5 separate regions of the Homo sapiens genome follow, and all the other regions are linked to region 3. The links are contacts of gene promoters, found by promoter capture Hi-C in blood cells and fetal thymus (Javierre and others, 2016). All regions are on one chromosome and are shown on one strand. The core of a region is centred on a gene start or on the middle of the fragment in contact, and the rest is flanking DNA. Distances in the headings are between cores, read along the strand shown. Region 1 holds the start of C19orf25 (chromosome 19 open reading frame 25). Region 2 holds the start of APC2 (APC regulator of Wnt signaling pathway 2). Region 3 holds the start of ATP8B3 (ATPase phospholipid transporting 8B3). Region 4 overlaps LOC107985337 (a long non-coding RNA gene). Region 5 holds the start of NDUFS7 (NADH:ubiquinone oxidoreductase core subunit S7).

Evidence for each region. Contacts are between HindIII fragments. The CHiCAGO score rates a contact against its expected background, and 5 or more counts as called.
Region 1: a contact is called between the fragment with the promoter of C19orf25 here and the fragment with the promoter of ATP8B3 in region 3, in 1 of 17 cell types (naive B cells). The highest score is 6.1, in naive B cells.
Region 2: the fragment with the promoter of APC2 here is called in contact with the fragment with the promoter of ATP8B3 in region 3 in 1 of 17 cell types (naive B cells); the score reaches 6.0 in naive B cells.
Region 4: a fragment that was not itself captured here is called in contact with the fragment with the promoter of ATP8B3 in region 3 in 1 of 17 cell types (megakaryocytes); the score reaches 5.2 in megakaryocytes.
Region 5: a contact is called between the fragment with the promoter of NDUFS7 here and the fragment with the promoter of ATP8B3 in region 3, in 2 of 17 cell types (M0 macrophages and total CD4 T cells). The highest score is 5.7, in M0 macrophages.

The regions. Positions count from the first base shown.
Region 1 is chr19:1,477,926-1,480,625 of GRCh38, forward strand. It overlaps C19orf25 (chromosome 19 open reading frame 25), which reads right to left and starts at 1,290. Exons shown (of 3, transcript NM_152482.3): 1 at 1,238-1,290; 2 at 849-980. The coding sequence starts at 978. RefSeq lists enhancers at 475-975, 1,337-1,456 and a silencer at 1,067-1,116. The HindIII fragment of the contact is 20,570 bases long and covers 1-2,700 here.
Region 2 is chr19:1,448,671-1,451,370 of GRCh38, forward strand. It overlaps APC2 (APC regulator of Wnt signaling pathway 2), which reads left to right and starts at 1,451. Exons shown (of 15, transcript NM_005883.3): 1 at 1,451-1,668. RefSeq lists a silencer at 1,298-1,497. The HindIII fragment of the contact is 28,474 bases long and covers 1-2,700 here.
Region 3 is chr19:1,810,845-1,813,544 of GRCh38, forward strand. It overlaps ATP8B3 (ATPase phospholipid transporting 8B3), which reads right to left and starts at 1,432. Exons shown (of 29, transcript NM_138813.4): 1 at 1,342-1,432; 2 at 645-1,040. The coding sequence starts at 892. RefSeq lists enhancers at 940-1,685, 2,066-2,225 and a silencer at 1,146-1,515. The HindIII fragment of the contact is 25,835 bases long and covers 1-2,700 here.
Region 4 is chr19:1,520,064-1,522,763 of GRCh38, forward strand. LOC107985337 (a long non-coding RNA gene) reads left to right here. Exons shown (of 3, transcript XR_001753835.2): 3 at 1,784-2,414. Among named protein-coding and RNA genes, the nearest start is that of PLK5, 2.7 kb to the right of the region's middle. The HindIII fragment of the contact is 1,605 bases long and covers 471-2,075 here.
Region 5 is chr19:1,382,562-1,385,261 of GRCh38, forward strand. It overlaps NDUFS7 (NADH:ubiquinone oxidoreductase core subunit S7), which reads left to right and starts at 1,346. Exons shown (of 8, transcript NM_024407.5): 1 at 1,346-1,381. The coding sequence starts at 1,366. TRF-GAA1-6 (tRNA-Phe (anticodon GAA) 1-6) reads right to left here and starts at 873; the gene lies at 801-873. It overlaps TRN-GTT2-6 (tRNA-Asn (anticodon GTT) 2-6), which reads left to right and starts at 1,002; the gene lies at 1,002-1,075. RefSeq lists silencers at 716-845, 1,026-1,165, 1,416-1,475. The HindIII fragment of the contact is 18,765 bases long and covers 1-2,700 here.

The DNA.
Region 1 (2,700 bases), core at 40-2,539, 330 kb before region 3:
GACTCCCAGGTTCAAGTGATTCTCCTGCCTCAGTCTCCTGAGTGGCTGGGATTACAGGCCCATGCCACCACACCCGGCTAATTTTTGTATTTTTAGTAGAGACAAGGTTCCACCATGTTGGCCAGGCTGGTGTCCAACCTCTGACCTCAAGTGATCCACCCACCTCGGCCTCCCAAAGTGCTGGGATTATAGGCGTGAGCCACCGCACCGGCCACTTATTTATTTTTGAGACACAGTCTGGCTGTGTTGCCTAGGCTGTATCCTCCCACTTTAGCCTCCAAGAAGCTGGGGCTACAAGTGTCCACCACCACACCCAGTAATTTTTTTTTTTTTTTGAGACAGTCTCGCACTGTCACCTGGGCTGGAGTGCAGTGGTGCGATCTCGGCTCACTGCAAACTCTGCATCCCGGGTTCAAGCGATTCTCCTGCCTCAGCCTCCCGAGTAGCTGAGATTACAGGCGCCTGCCACTATGCCCAGCTAACTCTGTTTTGTTTTTGTTTTTGTTTTTGTTTTGTTTTTTCATTTTTAGCAGAGACGGGGTTTCACCATGTTGGCCAGGCTGGTCTCGAACTCCTGGGCTCAAGCGATCCTCCCGCCTCATCCTCCGAAAGTGCTGGGCTTACAGGCCTGAACCACAGCGCCCGGCCTCCACCCCTGTCAGAAGAACCCTCTGAAAATCGGTCCCACTCTACGGAGGAGTAGAGGGAGACTCGGAGAGGATACGGACCGTGCCCATGTTGCGGGGGTTCCCAGGGCGTGGGGTCAGGAGTTAGGGGTGTGCTTCTCTCCCGTCCCCTTGCTGCCGGGGTCTCAGGTCCGCTTTTCCCCGGGACCGGGCTCCCCCTACCTTCCGGGGCCAGGATGGTGAACACTGGATCCTCTGCCGGCGCACCCCGCACATCCTCCAGGATCTGCTCCACCGTGGGGGGCGCTGGGCGGGTGGGCAGCAGCACGCGCTTCTTTGCCTTGGAGCCCATCTCTGAAGGCGGGGAAGGGGGCGCTGACCGGGGCGTCCACCTCTCCGCCCTTGCCCGGGCTGCTCCTCCCGCCCAGCGAACTCGTACGCACCCGTCGCGGTCCCGCTCCCGGGGAAGCCCGCCCTGTCCCGCCCCTCTGAGCTCGCCCCAGGCCCTGACCCTCCCTCCGCCCAAAAACACGGTGGCCAAGGCTTCAGGGTCTGGCTCAACCTCTGCCTCAGTTTCCCCGCGGTCACCCCAGTCGCCGGCCTCTTCCCACCTGGGCGCGGGACCCGAAAGCCCAGCGTCGACGACGCAGCCACTTCCGATTCCGGTCGGAGCACCGCCCCGTCCCCGAACACGTGACACACACTTCCGGCCTCCTCTCCCGCCGGCCCGCCGCTCATCGCGGGGCTCCGCCCCGTCTTAAAGGGATAGTGCCCTTGAGACTCGGATCTCAGCCTCTCAGGCGAACCCGAACCTGGACGCGCTACGATGAGAGCGAGTTCGAGTCCAGGCTCCACTGGCTGGGTAGAAAAGCATCCGAGGCTCGTCTTTCTGAAAAGGGGAACACGGCACTAGGGGACACGCCACCCATGTGGCTGACGGGAGCACAAAATTGCTGTCCACCTAAGGGAGCCTGGTGGTGCATGAGCACTCGGCGGCCGGAACACAGCGGGGGCGGGGCGGTCGCGGCGCCTCCACTTCCGGCCAAGGCGGGTCCTCCCACCTCGGGGACGGTGCTGGAGGTCACCTTTTCCTCTCCGCTGATGCCTGGGAAGGCAGAAAGAGCAGAGGGCCCTTTTCCTCTCTCAGGGGCTTTATTGAGATGCAGTTTACATACCATAAAGTTCTCCTGTTTATTTCGTTTTGTTTTGTTTTTTTAGAGACAGAGTCTCACTGTGTCGCCCAGGCCGGAGTGCAGTGGCGTGATCTCAGCTCACTGCAACCTCCGCCTCCCGAGTTCAAGCAATTCTCCTGCCTCAGCCTCCCGAGTAGCTGGGACTACAGGCGCCCGCCACCACGTCCGTCAAAATTTTTTTTTGTATTTTAGTAGAGATGGGGCTTCACTGTGTTGCCCAGGCTGGTGTCAAACTCCTGAGCTCAGGCAATCCGCCCGCCTCAGCCTCCCAAAGTGCTGGGATTACGGGCGTGAGCCACCGCGCCCGGCCAAATTCGCCTGTTTAAACTGTAAATTCAGCCTGGGCGCGGTGGCTCATGCCTGTAATCCCAGCACTTTGGGAGGCCGAGGCGGGCAGATCACTTGAGGCCAGTTTGAGACCAGCCTGGCCAACATGGTGAGACCCCGTCTCTACTAAAAATACAAAAATTAGGCTGGGTGTGTTGGCTCACGCCTGTAATCCCAGCGCTTTGGGAGGCCGAGGTGGGTGGATCACGAGGTCAGGAGATCAAGACCATCCTGGCTAACATGGTGAAACCCTGTCTCTACTAAAAATACAAAAAGAAAAACAAAATTAACCAGGCATGGTGGCGGTTGCCTGTAGTCCCAGCTACTCAGGAGGCTGGGGCAGGAGAATGGCATGAACCCGAGAGGCAGAGCTTGCAGTGAGCCGAGATCGTGCCACTGCACTCCAGCCTGGGCGACAGAGCAAGACTCTGTCTCAAAAAAAAAAATATTGTTGAGAGAGAAGGAAGGAAGGAAGGGACAGAGAGAGGGAAAAGGAAAGAAAGAGAAAGAAAGGAAAGAAGGAAGGAGAAGAAAAAGGAAGGAAGGAGAGAGAG
Region 2 (2,700 bases), core at 201-2,700, 360 kb before region 3:
TCTCTACTAAAAAATACAAAAAATTAGCCTGGGCGTGGTGGCGGGCGCCTGTAGTCCCAGCTACTCGGGAGGCTGAGGCAGGAGAATGGCGTGAACCTGGGAGGCGGAGCTTGCAGTGAGCCGAGAACGTGCCACTGCACTCCAGCCTGGGCTACAGAGCAAGACTCCGTCTCAAAAAAAAAAAAAAGAAAAAAAAGAAAAAGAAAAAAGAAAAGATCCCCTGTGTCTGCCCACTGCATTGCCTCCCCAGACCCAACCAGTGGGGACAGCTGCGTCCAGCTCTGGGGGCTCCCAGACAGCCAGGCCGAAGGGCTCTCAGCCCCTGGCAGTGCTGGCCCGGGACAAGGCCCTCGGGTCTTCAGCTCAAGGCCCAACAGGAAACAGCACGGGTCCTCCCTTGCCTTTGTCTACGGGGCCTTGAATACTCGGACCTTCCCACCCTCTCCTATCATTCCCTGCACCAGCCCTTGCAGAATCTTCCGCCTCCTCTCCATTTTACAGAGGAGGAAACCGAGGGTTGAGCGGCGAATGATTTGCCCTGCCTGCCCAGCACGGAAAAAAATCACTCTTCTGGCCCCAGTCGCCTCCCTTTCTGTGCTGTGAGTCTGTGTCCAGAGCAGGAAGGGCTGCTCCGAGCTGCAGGGACGGGCTCTGTGTGTTAAACCTTCAAATGGCTTCCAGGGACTCATGGAGCATCCAGGACACCTGGAGATGGCGACTCCTGGGACCCCTGGCCCTTCCCTCCTCTGGCCTTCGGTCCGTGAGGGTGAATTAAGTGTGCCACCCACCAGGGGCAGAGACACATGGAGACAGAGATTGAGAGACAGAGAACAGAGGGGGAGACAGAAAGAGAGAGGGACATGAAGAGCAACGGAGTTACAGGAGGATCTGACGCTCCGTTGGGGAGACAGGGAGAAATGTGGGGAGATGCAGCGTCCCAGGTGCTCCCCAGTGGCCCTGCCCCTCCTCCCCTCTCCCCTCCCCACCAGGCAGGACCCTCAGGGAGCTCCAGCCTGGACCCGAACCCTGTCCCACCCTGACGCACCTGCACCAGGCCAGGCTGGACCTGTGGGGTGGGTGCAGGCCTGGCCCCAGCCCGGCCACTGCCCTGGAAACCCCTCCCCCGCCAAGATGCTGATGTAACATCCAGGATTTGATGTTTTACTCTCCAATTCTGCAAATCCAGACGCAGGAGGTTTTAAGAGGCCGTTGCACCCTGCAATAAAGTGCGGGACACAGGAATCTTGGTCCTCGGGGCACCCCCTTCCCTCGGGGGGGTTTCGCCCCCCGCACTCACGGCCCCTGAGCCCGCGCGGAGGCCCGACGCCCCGCGGCCGACGCCGGTCCCCGCCCCGGGCCGCCATTGGCTGTTGCCATGGCACCAGCCCGTCTTCCCGCGCCCTCATTGGCTGTCTCACCCGCATCCCTCATCCCGCATCCTCCCCCGCTCGCGGTGGTCTCGCCCAGCGCTAGGAGCGGCAGCGCCGCCTGCCCAGGCCCGGACCGGGCTTTGTCCGCCCCGGAGCCCCTGCCCGCGCCGCGGAGACCCCGGAGCCCGCGCGCTCCGAGGCCACCCCGGGCCGGGATTTCCGGTGGGGCCCGCGGAGCCGCGCAGAGGGAGGAGGCCCCAGACCCAGGCGCCCCGCCAGCCCAGCTGCACGTAAGCGGGTGTGTGTCCTCGGGGAGGAGGGCAGGGGCGCGACCTCCGCCTCGCGTCGAGGTTTCCATCCCTGGCTCTCAGCATTGCCCGTCAGCACAGACTCTGGACCCTCCATTTCCCCAGAGTGGGAGCTGGAGGGGAAACTGAGTCCCGGTGAGCTGGGCGTCAGCGTTTCTGCAGCCGGTCCTGCGCACACACCCACTCACGGGCTTCACCATCCGGACCTCCCTGAGGTGATCGGAGGAAGGGATGGGCAGGCCAGTGGTGTGTCTTCGGGGGTGTTGCTGCACCTCTCTGGGTGTCAGTTTCCCTCTCTGGAAAGAGGGGGTTTGGATTAAAGGAAGGAGAAAGGCCCCTTTGGGCCTGGCTTCCCATACCTGTGCCTCCCTCCCCTGAAATGCAGCCCGCTCAATAAGACCAGCCCCCAGTCATGGTGCCTTCAGGGAGTGATCGCTCAGGAAGGCCCCCAGGAGGCTACACGATGCAACCTGGGGGTGAAAGTAGGCAGAAGAGCTTCGTGGAAGAAGCTGCACTGTGTGGGATGGCAGGACTTAGAAAAGGTGCTCTAGGCAGGGCAACTGCACGTGCAAAGGCCTGAGAGAAGAGAGCCTCCAGCCTCTAAGTGAGTCGCGGTGTACATGGAGGAGTCGGAGCGTATCCTGAGGGCACTGGGGAGCCATGGAAGGTGTTTGAGCATGGGAGAAATGGGATCTCACTTGTGACGTTTAAAGCTCCCTCTGGCTGTGCATGGGGGACTGTGGGAGGCCAGGAAGAGGCTGATCAGAATGTCCTCACAGAGGGGTGTCAGGAGCTGGGGGAGGCATGATCCCGCTGGGCAGAGCTTGGAGGGACTAGCTTAGTCTGATGAGGATGCAGAAATGACCACCGAATGTGGGGAGAGGGAAGGTGTCTGAGGCTTGGCTTCGGTCAGCTGAGAAGAACCACGTGGGGGAGGCCTGGGTTTGGGGAGCAGGAGGCAGACATGTGTTGCTTTGCACGTCATCTGGTCCTTCCACCTGGCTGGGCATGGGATGGTGACC
Region 3 (2,700 bases), core at 182-2,681:
CTGTGTGTCTTGCCTTGGACATCCTGAGACCTAGGGGACCCCAAGATGATCCTCAAACCTGCAACAGCCCATCTGCCAGTGTCCCCCGCCAGCCACCCTGGTCGCCTCCCGCCAGTACAGCCTAGAAGGACTCTACCGCCAGCCATGCCAGCCTCTGGCCATGCCAGCCTCCGGCCACTGCTCCCCACACCTCGCTTTTCCTGAAAGGACCACTCTCACCTCCTCCTGGTTTCACTGACGGCCTCCTGCCCCTCTCCCCATGTGGCACCAGCTTAGGGGCTCAGTCATCTGTTCACTGACTGAATGGGACCCCCGGGCTATATGTTATATCTCAAAACACAGCATGAGGGTCAGGCATGGCCACTCCCCTCCTCACCCCCCCAGGCTGGGCAGCAAACTCTGATGGGGGCGATGGAGGCAGACGGACATCGTCAGAAGATCCTGGAATCTTCTCCACTAGCAGGTTCAGGAATGTGGGTCTGGCTCTAGCCCTGCACCGGGGGCCCTGGTTTGGCCCCCTATGAGGATGGGCAAACCACCCCTAGACGCCAGCAACTGGCCCCCCACCTGCCAGCTCTCTAGCAGTGCCCTCCCCGCCAAGCCCCTGCCCCTGTGTTCCGGCCACCCGATGCACCCGTCCTCACCCTTCTGGTCTCCATTCATACTTCCTAGCCCGGCCAGGCTGGGCCTTGTGCCTCCTCTCAGGTGCCCCTCTGCCTGGGGAGTCTCCCATCCCAGCTCTGATCACCGTCTCACCTCCGCGGATGCCAGCAGGACCTGAGCCTTCCTGAGTCACGTCTGAGTCACCCGTGTCCCCAGGTCCTGGTGGGGCAGGGCTTGGCTCAGGGCCAGCTCTGGTGCTCCTGGGAGTCTGAGCGGGGCCAGTGCCCATTCACCGCATGAGGAAAAGGGAGGTTCAGGGCGAAGAGGGGTTTAGGCTGTGGGACGGGGGAGAGGTGGGGGAGACCCCCGTGGGGGCAGACTGGGGATTGGAGAGTTGGAGAGAATGCTCAAATGGCCAGAATCCACTCGAAGTGTATCTGGGGGCAGAAAGAGACACGGACACAGCGCTGGCTTCCTGCCCCCTCACTAACTGGGATGCCCCATTACTCGGAAGCCCCCCACCCCGTCTTCCCGCAGCCGCAGGGGCACAGGACCGCCCTGGACAGGGCTCCAGAGTCCAGGGCTGTCTGCACCCGCCCCGGGGCCCCGACCGCGCGAACCTCTAGGGGCGCGCTCTCCACCCCCGCCGCCACGACCCCAGCTCTCAGCCTGGGTGGAGCCCAGAGAGGGTGCGCGGGCTCCCGGGGACGCACAGCAGTGGGAGCACCCGCCGCTCACCGGCGCAGGAGAGGCAGGGGGGGGCAGGCCGCGGGCGTCCAGGGCGGCGGACGTGGTGGAACCGTTAGCCCGGTGCCAACGGTCCTGAAACGGGGGGCGGGATCTCGGGGCGGGGCCTCGGGGCCCGGCCAAGGCGAAGGTGGAGCCAGTTCGGACCCCGGAAGGGGGCCGGGGGCGGGGCCTGGAGGGGGTGGGTGGGGCCAAGGCGAAGAAGGGGCGGGGCCTCGAGGGTGGGGCCGAGCGGAGCACGGCCGAGCAGGATGGGGGCCAGGCCTCAGGGACGCGGTCACGGCCGAAGGGCGGGGCCTCGCAGAGCCTCGCAGAACAGGCCGGGATAGAAGACGCTCGGGAGCAGTGCCTGGGTCTGGGGAGGGGCCGGGACTTTGGGGAAGGGACTAGAAGGAAGGCGAGGACGAGCGGGGTCTCGCTGAGCAAAGTCAGAGTAGGGGCGGGGCCAGGACTCAGGGGCTTGGCCAGAGCGGGAAGCGGGGTTGAGCATGGCCTTGCGGAGCAGTGTTATGGTAGGGGCGGGGCTGGGATCCGGAGCCGTTACAAAGGAGGAAGGCGGGGCCGCGCAGAGCAGGGTCAGGGTAGGAGGGCGCTCAGGGTGGGTCCAGGACAGAAGGCAGGGCCTTGGGAGGGCCTTAGGGAGCAGTGCCAGTGCAGGGGCGGAGCCTGAAAGGGAAGAGGGTGTCAGGGCAGGGCCGGGCCGGGCTTGGTCAGGGAGCAGAAAGAACCTGCACCGCAGGGCGGGGTTGGAAGGGTTCTTGGAAAGGTGGGCCTGGGTCAGGTCGGAATGGGCCTTGCAGACCTGACGGGGCTGAGGCTGGTGCGGCCAGCGTGGCAGAGTGCAGGAGGAAGGACCACAGGTAACGGCGGTTATGTAAGTCATGTCTGATCCGTGTCCTGGGTTCGTTCATTCATCCCATACACGTTCAACGAGCGCCTCCTAGGCGCAGATGCAGGGCTGAGCACCAGGCTGGGGAGAGGCGGTTATAGCCATTGAGACCACCCTAAGGCCAAGAGGAAGCCCGCAGGGTTCTTTCCAGCAGGTGGCAGGGGCTCAGGGATCCTTACTGAAGAAGTGGCAGGGGTGAGTTCAGCGACGAGGCTAGGGCGGGTCCAGGCCAGCGATAGGGCCTGGAGCCAGGGTCAGAAAGTGTGTGCGGAGGGGCTGCTGAAGATGAAATGCCCCCAAGAGTGAGGCTACCTGGGGTGAGGGCCCAAAGGGAGAGGCAAACATGGGTGGAGGGGGATAGGGAAGCCACCTCCCCCATCAAAGCGGCAACCACCTGAGGGCTCTCGGTGATCACAAACCCTCTTTCTTTGGAAGCCCAAATTGGAAGCCTGCTTGGCCCT
Region 4 (2,700 bases), core at 23-2,522, 290 kb before region 3:
ATCTGGACAACAGTGCTTTTAGGAGGAAACAGAGTTGAGAGAGGGAAGAACAGGGCTTGGTTTCGGGGCACCAAGTCTGGACGCCCCCTCCTGCGCTCACACTGGGCCATGTCGTGCAGCATAAACCACAATCAGTGGGGGTCTCTGGAGCCCTGTGGTGGTGGTACGTCTCCTGCCTGCTCTGCTCCCAGGGCCATGGGTCCCTGGGCACCTGCGTGGTCAGGCGTCCAGGCACGTGAGACCCACGGGTGCTTGGTAAAGGCCAGGAGACCAGGCAGGGACCAGGGAGCTGGGCTGAGTCACATTGGTTGGTGGCCTCCACCCTGGCGCCTGCCGGAAGGAGGGTGCTGGGGAGGCCTGGGCCGCCGCTGACCTCGGAGGCAGCCCCATGAGCCTCCTGGGCCTCCAGGGAGTCGGGTGCCTGCTGTCTCAGCTGCCACGCCTCCACCTGCAGTAGGTATTTTGAGCAAAGCTTCCCGGCACTTCTCCGCAAAATCCGCTGAGTCTGTGGTTTTCTCAGGTCAGCAAAAGAACAGAGACTGGAGAGGAAATCGAGCCTGTGGTCTGGGATGTGAGAGGTGCTGGGGGTACAGGGGCTGCAGTGCTAGACCACCCAGGCCTCAAGAACCCAGGGCAGGGGGTAGGATGGGAGGGCCAGGTGGCCCCATTGAACCCTGCCCTGCCCCTTTGCAAAACGGCATCCTGTGCTCATCACACAAGCCGTGCCTCAGTTTCCCCATCTGTAAACTGGGGCATTAGTAGGACTATGTGTTTTAGGGGGTAGGGAATCTAATATATTTTTCCCTTTTTTTTTTTTTTGACAGAGTCTCGCTCTGTCGCCCAGGCTGGAGTGCAGTGGCGCGATCTCGGCTCACTGCAAGCTCCGCCTCCCAGGTTCACACCATTCTCCTGCCTCAGCCTCCCGAGTAGCTGGGACTACAGGCACCCGCCACCACACCCGGCTAATTTTTTGTATTTTTAGTAGAGACGGGGTTTCACCATGTTAGCCAGGATGCTCTCGATCTCTTGACCTCATGATCTGCCCGCCTCGGCCTCCCAAAGTGCTGAGATTACAGGTGTGAGCCACCACGCCCGATTAATTTTTGTATTTTTAGTAGAGACAGGGCTTCGCCATGTTGGCCAGGCTGGTCTCGAACTTCTGACCTCAAGTGATCCTCTTGCCTTGACCTCCCAAAGTGCTAGGACTACAGGTGTGAGCCACAGGGCTCGGCCAATTCTTTTTTTTTTTTTTTTTTTTTAACCTTTGAGGTGAAATTCACATAACATAAAATTTACCCTTTTTAAAATGCACAATTCAGCAGCATTTACTGCCCTCACAGTGTTGAACAAGCACCCCCTCTATCTAATTCTAAAACAGTTCATCCTCAAAAGGAGACTTGTACCCAACAGCAGTCCCTCCCCATCCCCTAATCTGTGTAAGAGGCCTTCAGGGAGAGCTGAGGGGTGTCTTTGGGGGCATTCATCCTTAGCCCCCCAAAACTCCCCTGGGGCAAGGCTGTGGTGAGCAGCCAGCCTGGGGCAGGGCGGGGGATGGGGACAGCTGGTTAGGAGGGCTCACATAGGCTGGGGGACAGAGTCCCTGCTCAGAGGGGCACAGGCTGGGACTAGGAGGCCTTTCCCAGCTCCATAGTGGAGTCTCAGCCAGGAAAAGCCGCGGGCGGCCAGGGGAGAGGGAGGGCGAGCCGGTCTCTGTGCAAGGAGCATCAGCTGACAGGCGGGCTGCGAGGCTCTGGGCCAGGAACTCTGATTTCTTTCCCCCTAGGAAGCTCAGACACCCGCCTCAGCACGAGGGCCTTGCCTGGCACTGCTCCCTGGGACTGCTGGGGCTGGCAGCCTGAAAGAGGGACAGACCTATTGTGGGGGGACCAGGAGCTCTGGATTCACTCCCACCTAGACTCCAGGCTCAGCCACATGCAGTCCGCGGTGATCCTGGGCTGGCACCGGACGTTCGGAGCCTCAGTTTCCTCATCTGTAACACAGGGCTAAGAACAGCACCTGCCTCAGGGACAAGTTACTGCCCAGAACGGGCCTGGCTCACTTCCTTCCACCTCCAAAGCTTTCCTTGACCCCTGACTTGGTGAAGTCTTGGACGTTCTTGCAGTCCGTTAAGCAGTGGTCCTTTTACGAGGACAGGGCTGGGTCTGCCTTGGGCTCGCACAGCCTGACACAGGCCCATATGCAGTAAGTGCTTAACAAATGCCTGAACTGATGCCAGGATGGACTGGTGCTATCAGGAAGGAACCGGAAGCCAGGCCTGGTGGCTCACGCCTGTCATCCCAGCATTTTGGGAGGCCGAGGCAGGCGGGTCATTTGAGGTCAGGAGTTTGAGACCAGCCTGACCAACATGGTGAAACCCGTCTCTACTAAAAATACAAATAAATAAATACATCAGCTGGGTGTGGTGGTGCATACCTGTAGTCCCAGCTACTTGGGAGGCTGAGGCAGGAGAATTGCTTGAACTCGGGAGATGGAGGTTGCAGTGAGCCAAGATCACACCACGGCACTCCAGCCCGGGTGACAGAGCAAGACTCTCTTTCAAAAAAACAAACAAACAAAAAAAAAAGCAAGGAACTGGCTTTCTGCCCCTGGAGGATTCCAGGGTGACAGTCGTGTGACAGCTCAGACACTCGGGCCCCGAGCAGCCCACCTTGCAGCCACCTCACCTGATTCTCATCAGCA
Region 5 (2,700 bases), core at 96-2,595, 430 kb before region 3:
TCCCCAGCCCATGGCACGAATTCAGTAAACACTTGTTGTGGTCCTCAAGGGGCCCCCAGTCTTGCTAGTCACCTGTGTTCACCTAATTTGAGCCTCTGTTTTCTTTACTTTTTCTTTTTCTTTTTTCTTTTTTTTTTTTTTTTGAGATGGAGTCTCACTCTGTCGCCCAGGCTGGAGTGCGGTGGCACGATCTCAGCTCATTGCAACCTCCGCTTCCCGGATTCAAGTGATTCTCTTGCCTCAGCCTCCCGAGTAGCTGGGATTTAGATACAGGGTTTCACCATATTGGCCAGGTTGGTTTTGAACTCCTGACCTCAGGTGATTTGCCTGCCTCAGCCTCCCAAAGTGCTGGGATTACAGGCGTGAACCACCGCACCGGCCTTTGCCTCTGTTTTTGTAATCATAAAACAGGCAGACAAAACCTCCAGTGGAATTGTGAAAATTAAATGATATGCATGCAGAAAGCGTTCTGCAAACTCTGTTTTGCTAGTTTGGGTGTTTAGTGTTAGTTTTTATATCATTAGTACTGGTTGTAAACTTATCAATTTAAGCAAGATGGAAAATCGAGGGTGTGTCAGGGAAGGGGGAAGTTTGAGCTGAAATTATGACCTCTTAGGGGTGGGAAGAGGAGGCTTTGGGGTTGTGAGGTCTGAGCCCCCTTACTTTGGGATGAGTCCACATCGCGGCGACTCCTCTGCAGAATGCGGTGATGTTGCGGTAAGGGGTCCGGGATAGCTGCGAGGCAGCTGGACCAATCCTGAACGAAAGACATCAGTGATCGCAAGAGGCGCTAAAACTTCTGCCGAAACCCGGGATCGAACCAGGGACCTTTAGATCTTCAGTCTAACGCTCTCCCAACTGAGCTATTTCGGCTGGGCGGCAGAGTCGCTCTCGCCGGGACTCCGTCCCGCGCTGCGCCTTCCCTGCGCAGGCGCAGTCGTTTCGCGTCAGCAGGCCCCACATCCTTTGTAAGGTCTCCCAGGGCGCCGGAGCGCAGTGTCGTCTCTGTGGCGCAATCGGTTAGCGCGTTCGGCTGTTAACCGAAAGGTTGGTGGTTCGAGCCCACCCAGGGACGCGTGGTGACTTTTGCCCTCCTGGAATAACAAGAAAATGAGTGTCGCCTCTGTTTTTGTCGGTCCGCCGCAGACCCGCGGCCCCCACGTGCGCACTCCGATGACCTTTCCGCCTCGGGTGATCTGGGGGTGCACGGCGCAACACGACCACGGAGGCCGAAAGCGCAGCGGAACCTCCCGGCTCCAGGTTCCGGTTTCCGCATGCGCTCCGAGCCGCTTTGGGCGGCGGCCCCGGGAACCCGGAGCGCTAAGGAGAACGGACCTCAGAGGTTGTCTGAAGGCCGAGGCCAAGATGGCGGTGCTGTCAGGTGAGCGCGGCACCGGCGGCGGGTGTGGGGCCGCGCGGGTCTGGGGCCGTGGGAGCCTCGGGTGTCGTGGTGGCGTCGGGGGTCGGTGCCGGCGTCGTGGCCGCGGTCCTCTCCGGGCTTCTCCGAGCCGGCCGCTCCTCGGGCTCCCCGCCCGGCTTGCGATGAACGGTCGCCGTTATTGCGTCCAGAGTACAGTCGGGGAAACCGAGGCCCGGTAGGTCATGACGCAAGCCTCCAGCCTCAGGAAGGCGCTCGGGGTGGAGGCTGGAGGGGCCCCATTCACGTCCCCGAGACCAGGGCACGGCCCGCGAGGCTGCTCTTGAGATGCCCTGGAGAGAGCGGGGCCTGCCTGACAGGCTGGGAAACTGAGGCCCATTGAGGGTCTTCGAGGTCACAGGGCCGGGCCTGGGAAGGAACAGGACCCAGGACATCCACGCCACCCTGCTGGACCCTCCACCTCCCTCCCCACCCCTGGGAGGTAAGGGCCTCTCGCAGAGCCTGTCCTGCTCCAGGGACTTTTTTGGGATCAGCTGAAGCCTGCGGACCTCTGCTCAGATAAAGTTATTAAATGCATGGAATAAAATCCATAGAATTGCAAGGAAATCAGTTACACGGAGAGGCAGTTATTAAAAGATTGTCTTGAAACCTGATTGGCGACTTAGTAATCTAAGTGCTTCCCTTATGAACGCGATCTAGCGGCAGGTCTAATTGCGACTGTGATTTGGAAGGAGTGAGGAGTGGAAATGAGGCTTTGATGATACGGAAACGTCTGCAGCCCCTGCACCATAGCTAGGAAACATCTGTGATTCCGCTTGGTGAAAAGTTACAGGTCCTGCTAATACTGCCGTATTTTGTTGTCTATGCTAAGAATTTTTTATTTATTTATTAAGACAGGGTCTGCCTCTGTCGCTCAGACTGGAGTGCAGTGGTGCCATCTTGGCTCATCACTGCAACCTGTGCCTCCCAGGCTCAAGCGATTCTGGCACTTCAGTGTCCTGTGTAGCTGGGACCACAGGTGTGCGCCACCATGCCTGGCTAGTTTTTGTATTTTTAGTAGAGATGGGGGTCTTGCCCTGTTGCCCAGGCTGGTCTCGAACTTCTGAGTTCAAGCAATCCTCCCACCTGAGCCTCCCAAAGTGCTGGGAGCCACGGCACCCAGCCTACGCTAAGAATTGAATGAAGGGCTAATTTTCCATAAGATGCTGGTGACAACAAAGACATATATATTTTTTTATTCCAAGCAAATTCACAGTTCTGAATCCTCACCAGGCCCCTTGTTAAGAATGCCTGGCCCACGCGCGGTGGCTCACGCCTGTAAT